7 separate regions of the Homo sapiens genome follow, and regions 1, 2, 3, 4, 6 and 7 are each linked to region 5. Evidence: promoter capture Hi-C in 16 types of primary human blood cells and fetal thymus (Javierre and others, 2016). All regions are on one chromosome and are shown on one strand. Each heading gives the region's core, a stretch centred on a gene start or on the middle of the fragment in contact. The rest is flanking DNA. Distances are from core to core; before and after follow the strand shown. Region 1 has its middle 410 kb from the start of ANKRD30A. Region 2 has its middle 260 kb from the start of ANKRD30A. Region 3 has its middle 400 kb from the start of ANKRD30A. Region 4 has its middle 380 kb from the start of ANKRD30A. Region 5 holds the start of FZD8 (frizzled class receptor 8). Region 6 has its middle 350 kb from the start of ANKRD30A. Region 7 has its middle 330 kb from the start of ANKRD30A.

The links. Contacts are between HindIII fragments. The CHiCAGO score rates a contact against its expected background, and 5 or more counts as called.
Region 1: a fragment that was not itself captured here is called in contact with the fragment with the promoter of FZD8 in region 5 in 1 of 17 cell types (naive B cells); the score reaches 6.8 in naive B cells.
Region 2: a fragment that was not itself captured here is called in contact with the fragment with the promoter of FZD8 in region 5 in 6 of 17 cell types (erythroblasts, M2 macrophages, total B cells and 3 more); the score reaches 8.1 in erythroblasts.
Region 3: a contact is called between a fragment that was not itself captured here and the fragment with the promoter of FZD8 in region 5, in 2 of 17 cell types (naive B cells and total B cells). The highest score is 12.4, in naive B cells.
Region 4: a fragment that was not itself captured here is called in contact with the fragment with the promoter of FZD8 in region 5 in 4 of 17 cell types (naive B cells, total B cells, endothelial precursors and 1 more); the score reaches 7.0 in naive B cells.
Region 6: a fragment that was not itself captured here is called in contact with the fragment with the promoter of FZD8 in region 5 in 8 of 17 cell types (endothelial precursors, naive B cells, total B cells and 5 more); the score reaches 22.5 in endothelial precursors.
Region 7: a fragment that was not itself captured here is called in contact with the fragment with the promoter of FZD8 in region 5 in 4 of 17 cell types (endothelial precursors, total B cells, M1 macrophages and 1 more); the score reaches 11.1 in endothelial precursors.

The regions. Positions count from the first base shown.
Region 1 is chr10:36,711,980-36,714,679 of GRCh38, reverse strand. No RefSeq gene overlaps it. Among named protein-coding and RNA genes, the nearest start is that of ANKRD30A, 410 kb to the left of the region's middle. The HindIII fragment of the contact is 482 bases long and covers 1,202-1,683 here.
Region 2 is chr10:36,864,404-36,867,103 of GRCh38, reverse strand. No RefSeq gene overlaps it. Among named protein-coding and RNA genes, the nearest start is that of ANKRD30A, 260 kb to the left of the region's middle. The HindIII fragment of the contact is 6,428 bases long and covers 1-2,700 here.
Region 3 is chr10:36,728,668-36,731,367 of GRCh38, reverse strand. No RefSeq gene overlaps it. Among named protein-coding and RNA genes, the nearest start is that of ANKRD30A, 400 kb to the left of the region's middle. The HindIII fragment of the contact is 8,119 bases long and covers 1-2,700 here.
Region 4 is chr10:36,746,463-36,749,162 of GRCh38, reverse strand. No RefSeq gene overlaps it. Among named protein-coding and RNA genes, the nearest start is that of ANKRD30A, 380 kb to the left of the region's middle. The HindIII fragment of the contact is 6,155 bases long and covers 1-2,700 here.
Region 5 is chr10:35,640,952-35,643,651 of GRCh38, reverse strand. It overlaps FZD8 (frizzled class receptor 8), which reads left to right and starts at 1,356. Exons shown (of 1, transcript NM_031866.3): 1 at 1,356-2,700. The coding sequence starts at 2,223. It overlaps LOC124902528 (zinc finger protein 469-like), which reads left to right and starts at 806. Exons shown (of 2, transcript XM_047426128.1): 1 at 806-1,022; 2 at 1,239-1,924. The coding sequence starts at 806. The coding sequence ends at 1,924. MIR4683 (microRNA 4683) reads left to right here and starts at 2,400; the gene lies at 2,400-2,480. It overlaps LOC105376494 (a long non-coding RNA gene), which reads right to left and starts at 337. Exons shown (of 2, transcript XR_930820.3): 1 at 1-337. The HindIII fragment of the contact is 11,239 bases long and covers 1-2,700 here.
Region 6 is chr10:36,771,185-36,773,884 of GRCh38, reverse strand. No RefSeq gene overlaps it. Among named protein-coding and RNA genes, the nearest start is that of ANKRD30A, 350 kb to the left of the region's middle. The HindIII fragment of the contact is 1,772 bases long and covers 468-2,239 here.
Region 7 is chr10:36,793,008-36,795,707 of GRCh38, reverse strand. No RefSeq gene overlaps it. Among named protein-coding and RNA genes, the nearest start is that of ANKRD30A, 330 kb to the left of the region's middle. The HindIII fragment of the contact is 2,997 bases long and covers 1-2,700 here.

The sequences.
Region 1 (2,700 bases), core at 193-2,692, 1.1 Mb before region 5:
GCAAAAGGCATGATTTTATTCCTTTTTATGGCTGAGTAGTAGTCGTTGATGTGTATATACATACACATTATATATATATGTAATTACATTATATATTTAATAGTATATATGAATTTATACAATTATACAATTATATATTATAAATAAAGTGTTTATGTAATGTATAATCACAAATACGAATATATATAGGTATATTGCCTTTTCCTTATCCGGTCCACCTTGATGGGTGTTTAGGTTTATTCTCTATCTTTGTTATTGTGAATAGTGCAGCAATAAACATACAAGTGCTGATGTCTTTTGATATAATTTTTTCTTTTCTTTTGGGTAGATATGCAGTAGTGGGATTATTATATCAAATGATGGATCTGTGTTTAGTTCTTTGACAAATCCATACTGTTTCTGTAGAGGTTGTACTCATTTACATCCCACCAACAGCATGCCAAGTGTTCCTTCTTCTCTGCACCCTCACCAGCATCTCTTATTTTTTGACTTTTTAATGATAGCCATTCTGACTGGTGTAAGATAGTATCTCATTGTGGTTTTAATTTGAGTTTCTCTGATTATCTGTGATGCTGAGCATGTTTTCATGTGCTTGTTGGCTCCTTGCATGTCTTCTTTTGAAAAAACGTCTGTTCATTTCCCGTGCTCACTTTTCAATCTACAGATTCAGTGCAATCCCAATCAAAATACAAACATAATTTTTCAAAGACTTAGAAAAGACAACCCTAAACAAAAAGAACAAAGCTGGGGCAGCACATTACCTGGCTTCAAATTGTATTACAAAGCTGTAGTAACCCAAACAGCCTGGTACTGGTATATAAATAAGAGACATAGATCAATGGAACAGAGGGAATCCAGAAATAGAGGCACGTGCGTACAGTGAACTGATCTTTGACGAAGTAGACAAAAACATACCCTGGGAAGCAACACCCTAATCAGTACGTTACACTGGGGAAGCTGGCTAGCCACCTGCAGAAGAATGAAACTGGACCCATATCCCTCACCATATACAAAAATTAACTCAAGATGGATTGAAGGCTTAAATGTAAGACCTGAAACTGTAAAAGTCCTAGAAGAAAACCTGGGAAAAATTCTTTTGGATATTATCCTAGGCAAAATAATTCATGACTATTACTTCAAAAGCAAATGCAACGGAAGCAAAAGTAGACAAATACATGGGACTTAATTAAACTAAAAAGCTTCTGAACAGAAAAAGATGTAATCAACAGAGTAAACAGTCTACAGATTGGGACAGGATATTTGCAACCTATGCATCCAACAAAAGTCTAATATCTGGAATCTACAAAGAACTCAAACAACTCTACAAGAAACAACCCCTTTTGTCATCTTTCTAATTGAACATGTTTAATGGTGTTTTTAAAGTATATGTCTGACAACTTCAATATTTCCTTCACTTGTGTTCCTATTTATATTTTTTTGCTTTTATCTCTAATTATTTATTAAATTCTAGAAATTGCTATGAAGATCTGTAGCCCCTCTGAATAATGTTTTCTTCTTCCACAAAGTCTTCACCCCATCTTCTGGTAAGCAGCTCAGCCAGGGGAGCCGATTACCATAATCCAGTCAAAGATGGAGCTCACTCAAGCCTGGTTTCCAGTTTTATAAGGTTTCATCTTCCTCTTTCCATCCCTTCTCCTGTTACTGGTGTCCTAACTTAAAGCTTTGGGTATTACCTATGGTCTTTAAGCCCTTGCTTACTCTCAAACTCCACTTTGTTTTTTTTCCACATCAGGACTATGGACAGCTGTATACTCTGATTGTCACTGACTCACTGCTTGTCATCTTAGTTTTTTGCCCCATGGAGCTTAAAAATGCAGCAAATGCTTTAACATCAGACAGGACTGCCTTCTTTTAACTCTTCCTCTCTCCAGGATCTTGACTTCACAAATTCTGAATTCCTTGACAGTCCTGCCATGTGATTTTTATTTCTTCAAAATGGTCAGATTGATGAATCTCTGATCATTATTTTTCTCTTAGCAGTAGCCCTCTATAACAATTCTCAGCTGCTTTGCCCTATACACAAATTTGGCAAGTGTTCTCAAAAGTTTGAAAAAGAAAGAAAAGCCATATTGAATATTGAATTTATTTCTCTGCAGTTCTCCTTTCCCTCCTTTCAGATACCGGCTGCCTCAGTAGCTCTCAGATGTTTTCAAACATCTGTATGTTTAAATTTTTTCTGCTATTCCAGCTGTTCTTGGTAGTGATGCTGCTTGCTACAAATTACTTCACTGTAGCCCAAGTGGAAAACTCCCATTGAATCCTTTTAAAAACAAGATATGTTTAGAAATGCCAGATTGGTAGCAGAGTTTACATTCTCTGACTGGCTTACTGGTTTATAAATGGTCTAAAGGCCAAAATTGTTAAAAAGGCATGTATAGATAGTACCTCCTCACGCTGCTTTCTCCTATGTTGCAGGGCAGTACAGTGCTCATTGGATGATATGCTTTGAGAGTGAATGTAGATTTCCATAGGGTCCATAGTACTCTGAGCTTCACTGGGATAACCAGTTGTGTGTTTGCAGGGTCCCCCAGAAAATGAAAATGCAAGTCCCTTGTTCAAAATTTATTTAGTATTTCTAGACACTCCCAGAAAGCTGATACCAAATGCAGAGGCCTTCTCAGTATGGAGTCCTTTGCAACTGCACAGGCCACACAACCTTGTCCCTGGCCCTGGTCTGTG
Region 2 (2,700 bases), core at 192-2,691, 1.2 Mb before region 5:
GGAATCTGGGCACAGGTTGGCTTGGCCCTCTGCTCAGGGTGGCATCTCATTTCAGAATTGGGGTCATCTTTCAAGCCACTTAACTAGGTAAGTGGAGGCTCCTGATGAAATGTCCTACAGGGGCATGGATTAGGAGAAACCCCGTGAGCTTTAAACCCTGGGAGTCATGGCTAGATTAATTCCTAAAGAGCATACTTAAAGGGTGGAAGAGGCTCTCTCAAAAAAGGCTTTGGGACAAATACCAAAAAAGGCACTCTTTTTTGTTGCCAATAACAAAGACATGTCATCTGCCCCATCAGTACCTTGAAATAATGCAAGATAAGAACCTCCTTTCATCTAAGTCCTAAAAAATGTCATAACTTGCATGTCCTGCACAGTCTTGGTTTATAGCTGTTGAACCACTTCCTGTCCATTTAGCATGAATATTGATGTTTTCTCACTTAAAATAAACTATAATATTTAACTGCTGCCTTAAAATGCACTGGGGTGGATTTGGATACTGCCCCTTCTCACTTCTGGCTTCTGCCCCTCTTTTCCAAACAGACCTAGCATCTCAGTGTCACTGGCCTCATGTAGGGTGCCTGTGGCTGTAATGAGGTTGTGTGCTGACACCAATGCCTGGGATAGCAGAATCCTTCAACGCTTGGGTGGACGTGGGAAAGTCAGCTGCCGTCCCTGATGCTCCCATAGCTGAACATCAGCTCACCTCGGCTGTTGGTGCCATGGTCATTGCTAGGGCCTGGGAGATGCACAAGGCCAGGTGGACTGCTCAGAGGGACACCTGGGAAACTACAGGTTAAGTGCAAGAAAACAAATGCAGGCAAAGAAGACCTCGCTATAGTGACTCTGTGTAGAAAAAATCTGTAATTATTTATTTTATTGTTTGTAACATTTTTTGCAATAATCCTTGCAGTAGAAATGCAAAAAGTACATTTTGGTTTGAAAATAGACACATAACTGGATTTCCATTCTCAAGAAACCAGATGATAAATATATAACCTACATAAAATGTTTATAGCCTCATCAACTATGGGTCTATAGTGATATCACTGACCATATAAACACAGAAGACACATGTCTCCTAAAAAAGTATTATCATAAACTTGAACATTTGATAGTTATTTTAAGGAACCTATGCCTATAAACAATGTAAAACATGAAGATATGAAAAGTACATTTACCTATTACACTGCAAAAAATGTTTTACATTTATTTAGATTGACTGTTTCTCTAAATTAATTTTGTTCATTTTAGATTGTAAATTCTTTGCATATAAAAAATTAAGTGATAGCTGTAAGAGGTTGTCTGGGGTACCACAAAGAGAATTGTTCACACTGTTAAATAATGTCACTGCCATACTGGTGTCAGCAGATGCTTCAAATAAAAGAGCAGTTAATTCTAATAATAGATTACTTTTAATCCTTTTTATGGAATCAAAGTTTAGCTTTTCATCCTGTAAATGGTGAAACTCCTGACATTATTTTGGATGCCACTGTAAATTTAGTTTCCAAAAGTATCATGGTAAAAAACAGGCCAGGCGCAGTGGCTCACGCCTGTAATCCCAGCACTTTGGGAGGCCAAGGCGGGCGGATCACAAGGTCATGAGTTTGAGACCAGCCACGACAACATGGTGAAACCCCATCTCTACTAAAAAAATACAAAATTTAGCCAGGCTTGGTGGCGTGGGCCTGTAATCCCAGCTACTCAGAAGGCTGAGGCAGGAGAATCATTTGAACCTGGGAAGTGGAGGTTGCAGTGAGCCAAGATCGTGCCACTGCACTGCAGCCTGGGAGACAGAACAAGACTTCGTCTCAAAAAAAAAAACAAAAACAAAACACTTTTTTTTTTTAAATCAATCAAAAGAAACCCAGGGAGCAGAAGTGTTCATGGTATAAAACGGCTCATCATGGTGTTCAAAGAACTGGTGATATTCTAATGAAGATGGAACCTTTAATTGTCAAAGTTAAAAATATTTCTTGTATAAGCACTTGATGTACATTACTTTTTACGTGAATGTCTTATATTCTGTAAGGAAATGGAACGGACTTGAGAAGCCCTATGATTCTGAAGCATCTTAATTTAGTTTAGGAAAATTACAAAGTTGTATGAAACATACAACTTACTTGACAGATTTACTTGGAAGATATTTGAAGAAAAGTCGCTGAATGGAGGTAAAAATACAACACTTGTGAATGTATTTGCTCTTTTTGTGAACATATTTGTCATTATTACACATTTCAATACAATTGGGTATAATCTTCCTTTAGGATAATTTGCTCTGAACATACGGAACAATTCAGCCTTTATTTCGAGGGGAAAAAGGAATATTTTTTCAATTAAAAATTGATAATGTAGAAATAAGGGTATGTGGAAAGTATCTAGTTACAAATTTAGGAGCCATAAGATGTAACTTTGAAGGAGCTTACAGAAAGTTGTATTTAAAACAAATTTTAAAATATCATGCTGAGAAAAAATATATTTTTCAGAAAAATGCTTGTGATGTAAATATATATAATATCCATACATAGATTATGTATAATTCTTCTGTTATTTATTTATTTATTTATTTATTTATTTATTTATTTATTTATTTATTTTGAGACAGAGTATCGCTCTGTCGCCCAGGCTGGAGTGCAGTGGCGCAATCTCTGCTCACGGCAAGCTCTGCCTTCTGGGTTCACACCATTCTCCTGCCTCAGC
Region 3 (2,700 bases), core at 165-2,664, 1.1 Mb before region 5:
ATTCTGAAACAAAGCCACGCCCTCCATAGCAGAGAATTATGTGTTGGACCTGGGAGAGATGCTGTGCTCGATCATGCATCTGGCACTGTCTCTTGCAGGCTGAGTTCTATTGGAAACACCAAGTCATGACACGAGAAGGGGCAAGAAGTAGTTCATCGTGAGGTGGAAATCAGAAATATGAGACAAAGGCCAAGCAAGACAACAGCAAGTGAATAAATTGAATAGCAGGTAACCCAAATCCTTGTGTCACCTACCATGTTTGCACCAGCAACCTTCCTTCAGCTCACACCTGTGTCTGCATTTGTGTCCCTGTGGCCATCCAAAGGAGGGAGAAAGAGGAAATCTCTATTTAAAAGTGTAGTTACGGCCAGGCACGGTGGCTTACGCCTGTAATCCCAGCGCTTTGGGAGGCCGAGGCGGGCAGATCACGATGTCAGGAGATGGAGACCATCCTGGCTAACACGGTGAGACCCCGTCTCTACTAAAAAAAAATACAAAAAATTAGCCAGGCGTGGTGGCAGGCGCCCATAGTCCCAGCTATGCAGGAGGCTGAGGCAGGAGAATGGCGTGAACCCAGGAGGCGGAGCTTGCAGTGAGTGGAGATGCGCCACTGCACTCCAGCCTGGGCGACAGAGCGAGACTCCGTCTCAAAAAAAAAAAAAAAAAAAAAAGTGTAGTTGCATTACAGCCCAATGCAAGAGTGACTCTGGAAGACAGAAGGAAGTGAAAATCTTCCCAATTAGCAGCACTGGGAGCAGTAGCCCCAGCCATCTACTTTACATAGAAGGAAACGTGGCCTGAGGCAGGAATATAAACAGATTTCTTTGCCCTGGTCAGTGGGTGAATCATCTGGTTAGAGGCTTAGATAGAAAAGAACTGAAATATCTGAGACAAGGAAGCCGGGTTAGAAGCATCTGAGTGGACATGCAGGAGCAGGCATGGAGGGTAAAGAATCTTGTATCACTCATTAACACTCACAAGAAAGCACTCGGGGTTGGGCGGGGTGGCTCATGCCTGTAAACCCAGGACTTTGGGAGGCTGAGGCGGGCGGATCACCTGAGGTCACGAGTTCGAGACCAGCCTGGCCAACCCATCTCTACTAAAAATACAAAAATTAGCTGGCTGTGGTGGTGGGCACCTGTAATCCCAGCTACTTGGGAGGCTGAGGCAGGAGAATTGCTTCAACCCAGGAGGCGGAGGTTGCAGTGAGCCGAGATAGCGCCACTGCACTGCAGCCTGGGAGACAGACAGAGACTCCATCTCAAAAAAAAAAAAGAAAGAAAGCACTCACCACAGAAGAGGCACTCAATAACCAATTAGACAAAATGACTTGACAAGCTGCCAGCCTTGGAGATTGGCTTTCCCACAGTAAGCACAACAGTCACACATATGGAGTCACACATATGGAGTCACACATATGACCACATTGGCAGAGATGGACGATACATATGGGCCCCATAGCCTGGACTCCTATGTATCAAGGTTGATCTAACTACTGCTGCCTCTGACTGTCCTACTTTTCAGCAAGGTAAATCAATATTGAGACTCTGACATGACAAGTCTTTTGATTTTGAATGACCACCTGTTCATCCTCAGAGGGTTTGGCACTTCTGTTCACAGAGCCTGAGCCAGGACCACTTTTCTGAGGCTTCCGGGATTCCTGATCCACAGGCATAAAATCCCACATGATATAGCATCTGACCAGGGTTCCCTGTTCACAGTTAAGGATGTGCAGAAGTGGGTCCATGACCATGTAATCTACTATTTGTATTACATACACACTTCAAGAAGCAGCTGGACTCATGGAGCCCTGTAGAAACATTCTAAAGATGAAACTGAAGCACCATGCCAAAGGAGATATTCTGAATGCAGGGGGCACCATCTTTTATACATATTCCATCACAGATCTTTATATGGTATTCTTCCTTCATAGGAAGAATCTATAGGTTCAGAAAAGAAGAGGTAGAAACAGGAATGTCCCCAATTACAAGTGTTCCCAATAATCTTCTAAGGTTCTCCCATGCTTCTCATCAGTGCAGCTCTGGGATCTGGAAGGCAGGCAAGTCTTGCTCTCTAAAGAAGGTTATCTGTTGCATGCTTTAGATTCCTTAGGTCCAGCAACCAAAAGACAAGAAATACATCACCATCCAGCAGGATGAATACACCCTGATTAGCAGGAGGAGGTAGGGCTGCTTTTCCACAAAAGAAGCAGAGATAATCTTTCTCTCTCTCTCTCTCTCACACACACACACACACACACACACACATACACACACTGATACACACACACACTCTCCCCACTCCTATACTCTCTCTTTCTCTGTTCCCCTCTCACAACTGGGCATTCAAAGGCAGTTCTGAGACCAATCGCTATAGCATGGGCTCATTAACCTTCCTTTTCTAAGATTCCCCTTGGGAAAGAGAGGCTTATGGGAATTTTGGAAGCACTGGTATGAAGAACGTGTTTGGACAAATATGTCTGTGCAGTGTTGGGATTTGGAGGTGGGGATAATGGATTTTAATGACCATGGAAATTTGCAATGCAGATATCCTGACTTGGACAGCATAAGTCAATGACAGCCTTCCTTTAGCCCTGTCTGTCTCTGGACTCACTTCTACACTTGTGCAGCAGTCATGTTTCCACAGTCATAGAGCACAGTGAGGATTGTATGTGAGGACTTTGCCAGTAAGTTGTGAGAT
Region 4 (2,700 bases), core at 127-2,626, 1.1 Mb before region 5:
CTGGCAGCCTGCTTTTATTCCCTTATCTGGCCCCACCCACATCCTGCTGATTGGTCCATTTTAAAGAGCACTGATTGGTCCATTTTACAGAGAGCTGACTGGTCTGTTCTGACAGGGTGCTGATTAGTGTGTTTACAATCCCTGAGCTAGACACCGAGTGCTGATTGGTGCATTTATAATCCTCTAGCTAGACATAACAGTTTTCCAAGTCTCCACTAGGTTAGCTAGACACAGAGCACTGATTGGTGCATTTACAAACTTTTAGTTAGACACAGAGTGCTGATTGGTGTGTCCACAAACCCCGAGCTAGACACAGAGTGCTCATTGGTGCATTTGCAAACCTCCAGCTAGACATAAAAGTTCTCCAAGACCCCACTCCACTCAGGAGCCCAGCTGGCTTCGCCTAGTGGATCCCATGTCGGGGCCATGGGCAGAGCTGCCCGCCAGTCCCACGCAGTGCGCCCACACTCCTCAGCCCTTGGGCAGTCAATGGGACTGGGCGCCGCAGAGCAGCAGGTGGAACCTGTCAGGGAGGCTTGGGCTGCATGGGAGCCCATGGGGGGTGGGGTGGGTGGCTTGGGCATGGCAGGCTGCAGGTCCCAAGCCCTGCCCCATGGGGAGGTGGCTGAGGCTTGGTGAGAACTCGAGCGTGGTGTGGGAGGGCCAGCAGTGCTGGGGGACCTGGCGCACCCACTGCAGCTGCTGGCCCAAGTGCTAAGCCCCTCACTGCTCAGGGCCAGTGGCGCCAGTCGGCTGCTCTGAGTGCAGGGCCTGCCGAGCCACACCCACCCAGAACTCACACTGGCCTGCAAGTGCCGTGGGCAGCCCTGGTTCCTGCTGGCACCTCTCCCTCCACACCTCCCTGCAAGCAGAGGGAGCCGGCTCCGGCCTCGGCCAGCCCAGAGAGGGGCTCCCACAGTGCAGCAGCAGACTGAAGGGCTCCTCAAGCATGGCCAGAGTGGGCACCAAGGCTGAGGAGTCACCAGGAGCGAGTGAGGGCTGCCAGCACACTGTCACCTCTCAATATGTTGTTGAATATATTTTCAAATACTTAACTTGCCATTTTTATATTTTCTTCAGTGACTTGTTCATTTATATTTTCTCATTTTTTAATTGAATTATTTGCTTTCTTATGAAATTTGAAGGTTTTCTTGTGTATTTTGAATGATAGCCTTTATTACAGATTAGTGGATAAAGAAAATGTGGCATATACATGCAATGGAATATTATTCAGCCTTAAAAAAGAAGGAACTACTACTATTTGTGACAGTATTGATGGAACAGGAGAACATAATGCTAAGTGAAATAAGCCAGACACAGAAAAACAAATATGCTTCATAATCGAACTTATCTGTGAAATCTAAAAAATTTAAACTCATTAGTTTAAATTTATGCTTATGCTTTTATCTTATGCTTTTAGTTAAAAGATTAATACATTCCGGGGACCTAATATATAGCATAGTGTCTACAGCTGATAAGAATGTATTGTATACTTGAACTTTGCTAACAGGGTAGGTCTTACGTATTCCCATACAAACACACACAGACACACACAGAGAAAGTGCAACTTTGTAAGTTGATGAAAATGTTGACAGTGGCTATTACTTCACAATGTATACATACATCACATCATATTATATACCTTAAATATGTGCAATTTTTATTTATCAATCATACTTCAATGAAGCTAGAAAGAAAAATCAGGGAAAAACATTTGTACAGCGTAAGTAATTCATTATGAAAGGGATACATTTTCTAAAAATTATGATATCTTTTTCTATGCTTATTTTAGAATATTGTATTGTCATTGTGATTATTGCCACTATTTTCCTCTCTGCACCTGTATTCCTATCTTAGTCATAGTGACCAAATCTCCTCTGATAACACTTTGTATTTTTGCCCATCTGAAATTATATCTTAAATTCTAAAAAGTAAATATTTTCTGATTTTTAGGGAAAAAGAAGTATTTTTTAGATTTCCTAGGTGATGTCTAGAAAAATCATGACAATTTTTGACTTATAAAATGAGTGATGCTAAAAGAAACTAGGCTCTGGCCAGGCATGATGGCTCATGCCTGTAATCCCAGCACTTTGGGAGGCCTAGGTGGGCAGATCACCTGAGGTCGGGAATTTGAGACCAGCCTTACCAATGTGGAGAAACCCTGTCTGCACTAAAAATACAAAATTAGCTGGTTGTGGTAGCACATGCCTGTATTCCCAGCTACTCGGGAGACTGAGGCAGGAGAATCCCTTGAACCCAGGAGGCGGAGGCTGCAGTGAGCCGAGATGGCACCATTGCACTCTAGCCTGGGCAACAAAAGCAAAACTCTGTTACAACAACAACAACAACAAAAAAAAAGAATTAAGGCTCTTTTGGTGTGCCCCATATTTCTTCATTAGCTCTACACTTTAGTAAGTTTTAAATGTACAGTTCAGAGGGCGTTACATTCACCATATTAGGCAATCTTTACCACTGTCCATTTCCAGAACTCTTTAATCATGCCATACAGAAATTATGTTCAGGCATGGTGGCTCACGCTTGTAATCCCAGCACTTTGAGAGGCTGAGGCGGGTGGATAACCAGGTCAAGAGATCAAGACCATCCTGGCCAACAAGATGAAACCCAGTCTCTACTGAAAATACTAAAACTAGCTGGACATGGTGGCACGCACTTGTAATCCAAGCTACTTGGGAGGCTGAG
Region 5 (2,700 bases), core at 107-2,606:
GGGAGAGAAAGAGAGAGAGAAACATATTCTGCCACCCTCCTGGCTAACTGAAATGCTTGTTCCCGAGATTACAGTAATTACTGCCCCAGCATGAGTTCCATACAAGCGCTAAATGAAACAGCACATCAATTAAAAAATAAACACTCCATTCTAGGAGAAAGACAGCCCCCTGGGACGCCCTAACAAGCGTAAATGAACCTGCCAGGCCGCCGGCCCGGGCCGCCCGCAGCCCCCCTCCCGGCCCGTCTTAAGGTGGCGGCGGAGCCGGCGGGGGCAGCGTTCGCTGGCGGTGGCCCAAGCGGCTGCTAAAAGCAGCCCGGGTCCGGCTCCGGCCTCGTGCAGAGAGCAGATACGTGTCGCGGAGTCCACGCCAGAGCGCAGCGCCGCCTCCCACCAGAGAAAAGGAGGCTCTGGCAAAAGCCTGTGAACTTGGGATGGATGAATAGACGTCCTGAAAGAACGAAGGGAAGACAGGGAATCCAGCCCCAGAGTTTCCAGCCTGTCCTATTTATAAGTTTCGAGGTTTGTTTTGAATTTTAGAAAGAAATTGAATGATTTTTCCTAAGAAAGCACGGCGGCTCGGGGCTTCCTATATTTTATCTCACCTAATTATCAAAGCCCCCTTGGAGATCTGTGCTATGATCACCCAACTCTCTAGGTGGGGAAACTGAGGCTCCCCCAGGTCACGCAGCGGAGGCGGGAGGAGAGTCTCTGGCGGGCATTTGTCCCCCGCGCCCCTCGCGCGCCCAAGGCTGGGCTCCGGGGCATCTCACCCGGGCCGTCCCGGGTCCAGCCCCAGTTTAGAATGACTCCACACCCCCCACATCTCCAAGTCTCAGAAACCATCGTTCTGAGAACCCCAAGGAGGACACCCTTTCCCGGGTCTTCTGCAGCGCCGAGCCCCGGCAGGCCTCCCCGGCGCTCGCCTGCTGCGAGACCTTCCTGCCGCCCCGAGGAGCACGAGACCCCAGCCGCCTGCAGATCACCCACATTTGCGGAGGGTGGCAGCAGGGGCTTGGCTGGTTTGAAACGCGCCGGGGAGGCGCGCGCTGCACCAAACCCCGTCCCTGTCCCCAAGGGCAGACTCGGGGTAAGGGGACCAAGACCTCCGACGCACTCAGCGCCATGGGGACAGCCATGGCCAACACTCTGTCTCTGCGGTCAATCCCAAGGTTACCAAAACTCTCCATCCGCAGAGAGCGCGCACAGCAGTGCGGACACTCGGGGACTGCCTTAAGGAAGGCTGAGCCCTGGGAGCGCGTGGACTCCGCCCTACCGCCCGGCGATTGGCTCGCGGGGCTGGGGGCGGAGACCGAGTCCGCGCTGTATAAATATTCATGAGCCGGCAGCGCGGCGCGAGCGGGGCTGGAGCCGGGAAGTTGGGCTAAGGGCGCTGCTCCCGCCGAGGAGGAGGCGGCGGCTGGGCGCGGGCCGCGCCACTCAGGTGTCCGCTCCGCCTTCCGGTCTGGATTTGCTCCTGGGTGTCCAGCAGGAAGGAGACTGTGTGCACCTCGCCCGACTGCGGCCGGAGCGCGGCGCTGACTTTTCCAGGCGGCGGGGGTCCGTCTGTCCCGGCGGCGGACGGACGAAGGACGGACGCCGGAGAAAGAGGGCGGCGGCCTGGGCCGAGGCGGGTCCCCAACTCCGGCGGCGGCGGCGGCGGCTTGGCCTTGGGGGCGGGCATGAGCCCCCGGGGGCCGAGTGGTGGCCGCCAGGGCTGACCCGGCGCGGCAAGCGGCCCGGCCCAGCCATCTTGACTGCGCACCGCGGCCCCAGAGGAAACTTGCGGCGCCTCCGCCCTCTCTGTCCGGCGGAGTCACCGCCGCCCGGCGCGGCGGGGAGAAGTGGTCGGGCGCGCGGAGAGGAGGCGAGCGAGCGCGGGACGATGAGCCGAGGCCCGGCCGCTCTGCGCCGCGAGGGCTGAGCGCGACCCGGGGCCAGCAGAGCGGACCTACGGACTGTGGCGCGCGCCTGCAGCCGCCTTCAAACCCCCGGAGCGGCGGAAAGGAGTGCGGAAGGGCCCTGCCCAGGCTGCGGGCCGCGCCGCTGCGGACGCGCCCCTAGAAGGGGTTAGATTATCGGCAGACCCCCCTCCCGGGCGAAGCATAAGGGAGACCCCAGATCACCCGCTGTACCCGTCTGCGGCTCTCTCGTGGGCCCCCCCCCCGGCACCCCTCTGCGCGCCGCCTGGAGGGCGAGGGCACCGGGCCGAGGCGCACAGCATGGAGTGGGGTTACCTGTTGGAAGTGACCTCGCTGCTGGCCGCCTTGGCGCTGCTGCAGCGCTCTAGCGGCGCTGCGGCCGCCTCGGCCAAGGAGCTGGCATGCCAAGAGATCACCGTGCCGCTGTGTAAGGGCATCGGCTACAACTACACCTACATGCCCAATCAGTTCAACCACGACACGCAAGACGAGGCGGGCCTGGAGGTGCACCAGTTCTGGCCGCTGGTGGAGATCCAGTGCTCGCCCGATCTCAAGTTCTTCCTGTGCAGCATGTACACGCCCATCTGCCTAGAGGACTACAAGAAGCCGCTGCCGCCCTGCCGCTCGGTGTGCGAGCGCGCCAAGGCCGGCTGCGCGCCGCTCATGCGCCAGTACGGCTTCGCCTGGCCCGACCGCATGCGCTGCGACCGGCTGCCCGAGCAAGGCAACCCTGACACGCTGTGCATGGACTACAACCGCACCGACCTAACCACCGCCG
Region 6 (2,700 bases), core at 104-2,603, 1.1 Mb before region 5:
AAAAAACGCAATGCCTACATAGCTGATGATGCAATCTTATCTGGAAAAACCTAGAAACTCCCATCAAAAAAGCTTAGATTTTACAAATGAATTCAGTCAAGTTTCAGGATACAAAATCTACCTACAAATTCAGTAGCATTTCTATAACCCAATAATAATCTGAGAAAGAAATCAAGAAGGTAATCCTGCTTACAATAGCTACAAAAGACAAATTAAAAAGCCCAAAGTAATCTTATTTAAACAAACAAACAAACAAAACCTACGAATAAATTTAAACAAAGAGGTGAAAAGCCTCTACAAGGAAAACCACAAAACACTGAAGAAAGAAATTGAAGATGACACACATAAATCGTTAGGTTTTTAAAGACAATGAAATACAAAAACAAGCAAAACAGAGTTCAAGAAATAACAAAGCAAGAATAAAACAAGAAATAACAAGCTAAGAAAAGTAAGACATATGTTAAGCTTAAAGTAAGATGGTAAAAAAATCATAATATATCAGTAATCAGTAATCACCAAAACTGTTAATGACTGAATTTGCCAGCTCAAATACAAACACTATCAGATTTGTTTTTAAAGATCATGTAATTACTATTTATAAAAGATATATATAAAACAAGAACAAAGAAATGTTGAATATTAAAGGATGAAAAAGACAGAGCAATTACAAATAAAATAAAACTCACGGAAGGCAGAGGCAGGTGGATCACGAGGTCAGGAGATCAAGACCATCATGGCCAACATGGTGAAACCCCGTCTCTACTAAAAATACAAAAATTAGGCCAGGTGCAGTGGCTTAAGCCTGTAATCCCAGCACTTTGGGAGGCTGAGGCAGGTGGATCACGAGGTGAGGCGGTTGAGACCAGCCTGGCCAACATAGTGAAACCCCATCTGTACTAAAAATACAAAAAATTAGCCAGGCGTGGTGGCTGGTGCCTGTAATCCCAGCTACTTGGGAAGCTGAGGGAGGAGAAACGCTTGAACCTGGAAGGTGGAGGTTGCAGTGAGCCGAGATCGTGCCATTGTATTCCAGCCTGGTGACAGAGTGAGACTCTGTCTCAAAAAAAAAAAAAAAAAAAAAAAAAAAAAAAATCTGGGTTAAAACCTCCAAATATTTTTTTTTTAAGAGACAAGCTCTTGCTCTGTCACGAAGGCTAGAATGCAAGTATGATCATCATAGCTCACTATAGCCTCAAACTCCTAAACTCAAGTGATCCCCCTGCCTCGGCCTCCTGAGTAGTTGAGAATATAGGAGTGTACCACCATGCCTGACTAATTTTTAATATTTGTTTTTGTAGAAATGGGGTCTCACTATGTTGCCCAGGCTGGTCTCACATTCCTGGAAAGTTCAGAACTTTTGAGCTCTAGTACCTGATTTCAAATTCTGGCTCTATGATGTATGAGCTTTGTATGTTGAATAAGTTACTTACATTTTTTTAACCCATTTTTTAAATTTATCTGAAAAATGTTCATAATCACAGCCTCTAACGGAAGCATGTTTATTAGGATTAATTAACATACAAAGCCCTTAGAACCATGCTTAGGGAAGGCAAACCCACACATATTTTTTAAAAGAAATAAGATTATTAGTAAAGTGAACCGATTGATGTAAAATTCTCATTTTAGAGTACTTTTCAAATTAGTTAATCATCACTAATTACAGCAATACAGAAAATCCAACAATTTTTTTTCTATTCCATTTTATCTTCTAAAAATGGCATAATGAATAGCTGAAAAGAACACATTGTATACAAAATAAGAACCTAAATAACCAAGAGTTGAATCGTAGGATATTGTCATATAAGAAAAAGGTTTATGGAGATTAAGTTGAAGCTGCCATTTTAGAGGTTGTTTATTTTGTATAGAAATATTTAAAACTATATTGCCAGCAAGAGCTCAAATTTAGAGTTTTTCATTCTTCATCTCTCTGTCTTTGTTGATGACATCATTAGATTAATTGAATGCCCAGATAAGAGAAAAGCATTAATGGTTCTTGCTATCCTAATTGTTTTCACATAGACACATGGCTACCATGACCAACATTGATTGATATCTTCTGCTAAAACAAAATAAGAATAACAACATTTTTTGGTAGAAAGAATGTGAGTAACATTGCCCTTCCTTCCTAAAAGAGCTATTTGTTGCCTGAATGAAGGGAAACAATTAAATACTGTCTTTAAAGATGACAAGTTAAATTCACAGCTAAACATCTGCTGTTAAGTCACAGTTTGCTAAAGCTTTTGAGGTAGTTTAAGGGACCCATATTTCCCTGTCATAGGGAGTTAATATGCCCATAATGACGATGCTATGTGATTCATTCCTGTTTTTTTTCTCCATCTTTTCTAAAGAGGAAGATTTTCAGCTGCTCTTTGTTAGTCTCCGAATAAAGTTTAAATAGGCCAGAAGATCCGTTTCTGAGAAAAGTTAAATCAGACTCGTATCTGTGCCCCACAGTAAGAAAAGTCATCGAGTCTTCATTCTTGGTGTCATTTCTGTGCCATCTCAATAGTGTAAATGCAAATACTTCAAATCACTTGTGAATTATCATCAACTTACAGAAGGCTCCTGAGTTTAGTAACTTTTCTCTTTATTTGGACCAAGTGTGAGAAAGAGGTCAGGGACGCTCCATTCTTACCAATGCACATAGACAAACCCCACATGTTTTTGTTTTAAATGAACTAACCGAATTTGAGTGCAAAT
Region 7 (2,700 bases), core at 146-2,645, 1.2 Mb before region 5:
GCATATACAACAAATTTAGTCAGATATGAGAGATCATGTCAGTATATTAGGAAAATACACCCACCTTCTATGGATCTAACTAGTATTTTTACTATGTTTCCTTTTCAACTAGATTTTCTTATGCCTTCTGCTGTATTTAGCAGAGATTTTATGTTTAGCCTTAGATGTGACTCAAGTATCAAAACAAATGCTATAAAATGGTAATAGTATATTTTGTATGTTTTATTTTTCACAGTTCTTCTACATATTCATTAGAAGATAAATTCTTTATATATTCTTTTTGAGATAAAAAAGTACATGAGTTGACACACTTGGTCTAATTATTAGGGAATCCTCAAACATGGTCATACCAGTTGGCATAAAAATCTAGTAGAAGACAGGAGATGCAGGAAAGGGTGAACTTAGAAAGAGTGAACTGATCAAATAGAGCAATGTATAGATGGAAACATAGGATTTCCACTGAGAGATGACCCTTGTCGCCCACTGGATTATCTTAGACCAACGAATCATAGATTACCTCATGAGAATGATGTCATTTCTTAAGGAAAATTAATCAATTTCAGTGAAGAAAGTATGGCTTAGAGAATTTGTCCCACTGAGCCTCATAAGTTTCATTCTTCATTTATCATTTTTCAGCATTCTTAGAGGATATTTAAATAACAGGTAGTGACATTCTCTTCACTGTGTGGTGTTTCGTGAATTAGGGCTTTACTGTGGCTCATTAGGCCTGTTATGATAATGGAATCCTCTCTTTATCTCATGTCCTGTATCTTCACACTACTGTCATTTGTGTTCTTCTCCTTCTTGCTGCAGAAACTGTGCCAACTCTTATAGCCTAGCCCTATGGCCACTTTTCAGCCCATCCCAATGAGATGTCATTATAGCACCCAGCACTTTTGGCTACCCTCTGAGTTTGGATTCTGAAATTAGGGTAGGCATCCCTAAAGTCCTCATTCAACCACATACTAACAACAGCCCTTGTGACTTGAAAACCCTTGAAAAAATGACTTAAGCTGCATAAGCCTCAGTTCTGTTGTCTGTAAAATGGATGGAATAATAATAATAGTGCCTGCCTCATGAGATTGTTTCAATATTAAACAAAATGATGCCTATATACTTCCTATCAGGCAGATAGTAACTGCTTAATCAGTTCAGTCATCATCAATGTTATACATACTTAACAGCACTCTTTAAGGTCCTTCTCCTTGCTTCCTCTTCACCTCTCTCTGCTCCATTAGTGGCTCGTGTTTATTCCCAGGTTTCACTTTTCACCATTCTGCAAATTCTTACCAGAAACCCTGCAAATTCCACCTGCTTGCTGATTACTTCCAAGTGTGTATCTCAACCCAGGTATGAAGAGACTTGTTTATTCAATTTGCACAACATGTTTATTGCTTCTTCAAATATAGAAGTTATATTTTCTTTCTTTTTGTATTTCCATGCAAAGCACTTCATGCAGGACTGGCTACTCAGAAGTGTTAACTAAATATCTATTGAGTGAGAAGGACCATCAAACTCATTGCTTTTCTATTTTCTCTCTAGCTTTTGTCTTTACTTGGGCTTATTGTTCTGGGTAAAATCTTAGGGAAGAAAACCTATTTCTGGATTAATATTTTGTTTCCTACCCAATTTAGAACTGGTAGAAGATCCTTAATAAATATCTGTTGCCAAAGAGAAAAGCACTTTTTTATCAAAAAATAAGTATTTAATAGGAAGTTGTGAAAAGAAGTGATATCCCTGGTGGCTGAGAGATGGTGGATCCCTGTACCCACCCTCTAGAAAGTACCCTTTAGATAGCAAGCTCTTAAGAGTACCAACATGTGCATCTGGTCATGCCTCAGATGTTCTTGTAAGGCTTGTGACCCCTGGGGAGGTTAGATAAGCATCTTTATGAGAGGCAGAATATGCTATAGGAATTGTTTCAAGACCTTGCCACATGTGAAGTTGCACCATGCAAGGGTGTAACATTGTTCATCATGGTGGTTTCACTTCAAATGGCATTGGTCTTGCCATGCAACAGGCTGCTTTTCTACTCTCACCCCTTGAAACTGGGCCACACAATCTCACACACGCATCTCTTCTATGATAGTCCCTGGGTCTAGAGGGAGGGTGCTTGATACTGGATAGCTTCAGCAGCAGTGCACTGGCAAAGGAGAACAGATCTGGTCCCAGCGGGATTCTAAATGAGGGAGATTCACAGGCTTGGTTGAATCATCTCTAGTCTTCTGAATACCATGATTTTGATTTTATCAGAAGATGTAAAACATTGAGAGGTACACAACGTTAATAACTTGAATAGTAGAGGCCGGGCGCAGTGGCTCACGCCTGTAATCCCAGCACTTTGGGAGGCCAAGGCAGGCAGATCACCTGAGGTTGGGAGTTTGAGACCAGCTTGACTAACATGGAGAAACCCCATCTCTACTAAAAATATAAAATTAGCCAGGCATGGTGGCACATGCCTATAATCCCAGGGAGACTGAGGCAGGAGAATTGCTTAAACCTGGGAGGCGGAGGTTGCGGTGAGCCGAGATCACACCATTGCATTCCAGCCTGGGCGACAAGAGTGAAACTCTGACTCAAAAGAAAACAAAAAAAAAAAAATTGAATAGTGCACAAGGATTACAGAATGAAAAAAAAAAGACTTATTCCATTAGAGAACATCATGAAGATTAAAACCCCTTTTTTTCATTGGAGACTTTT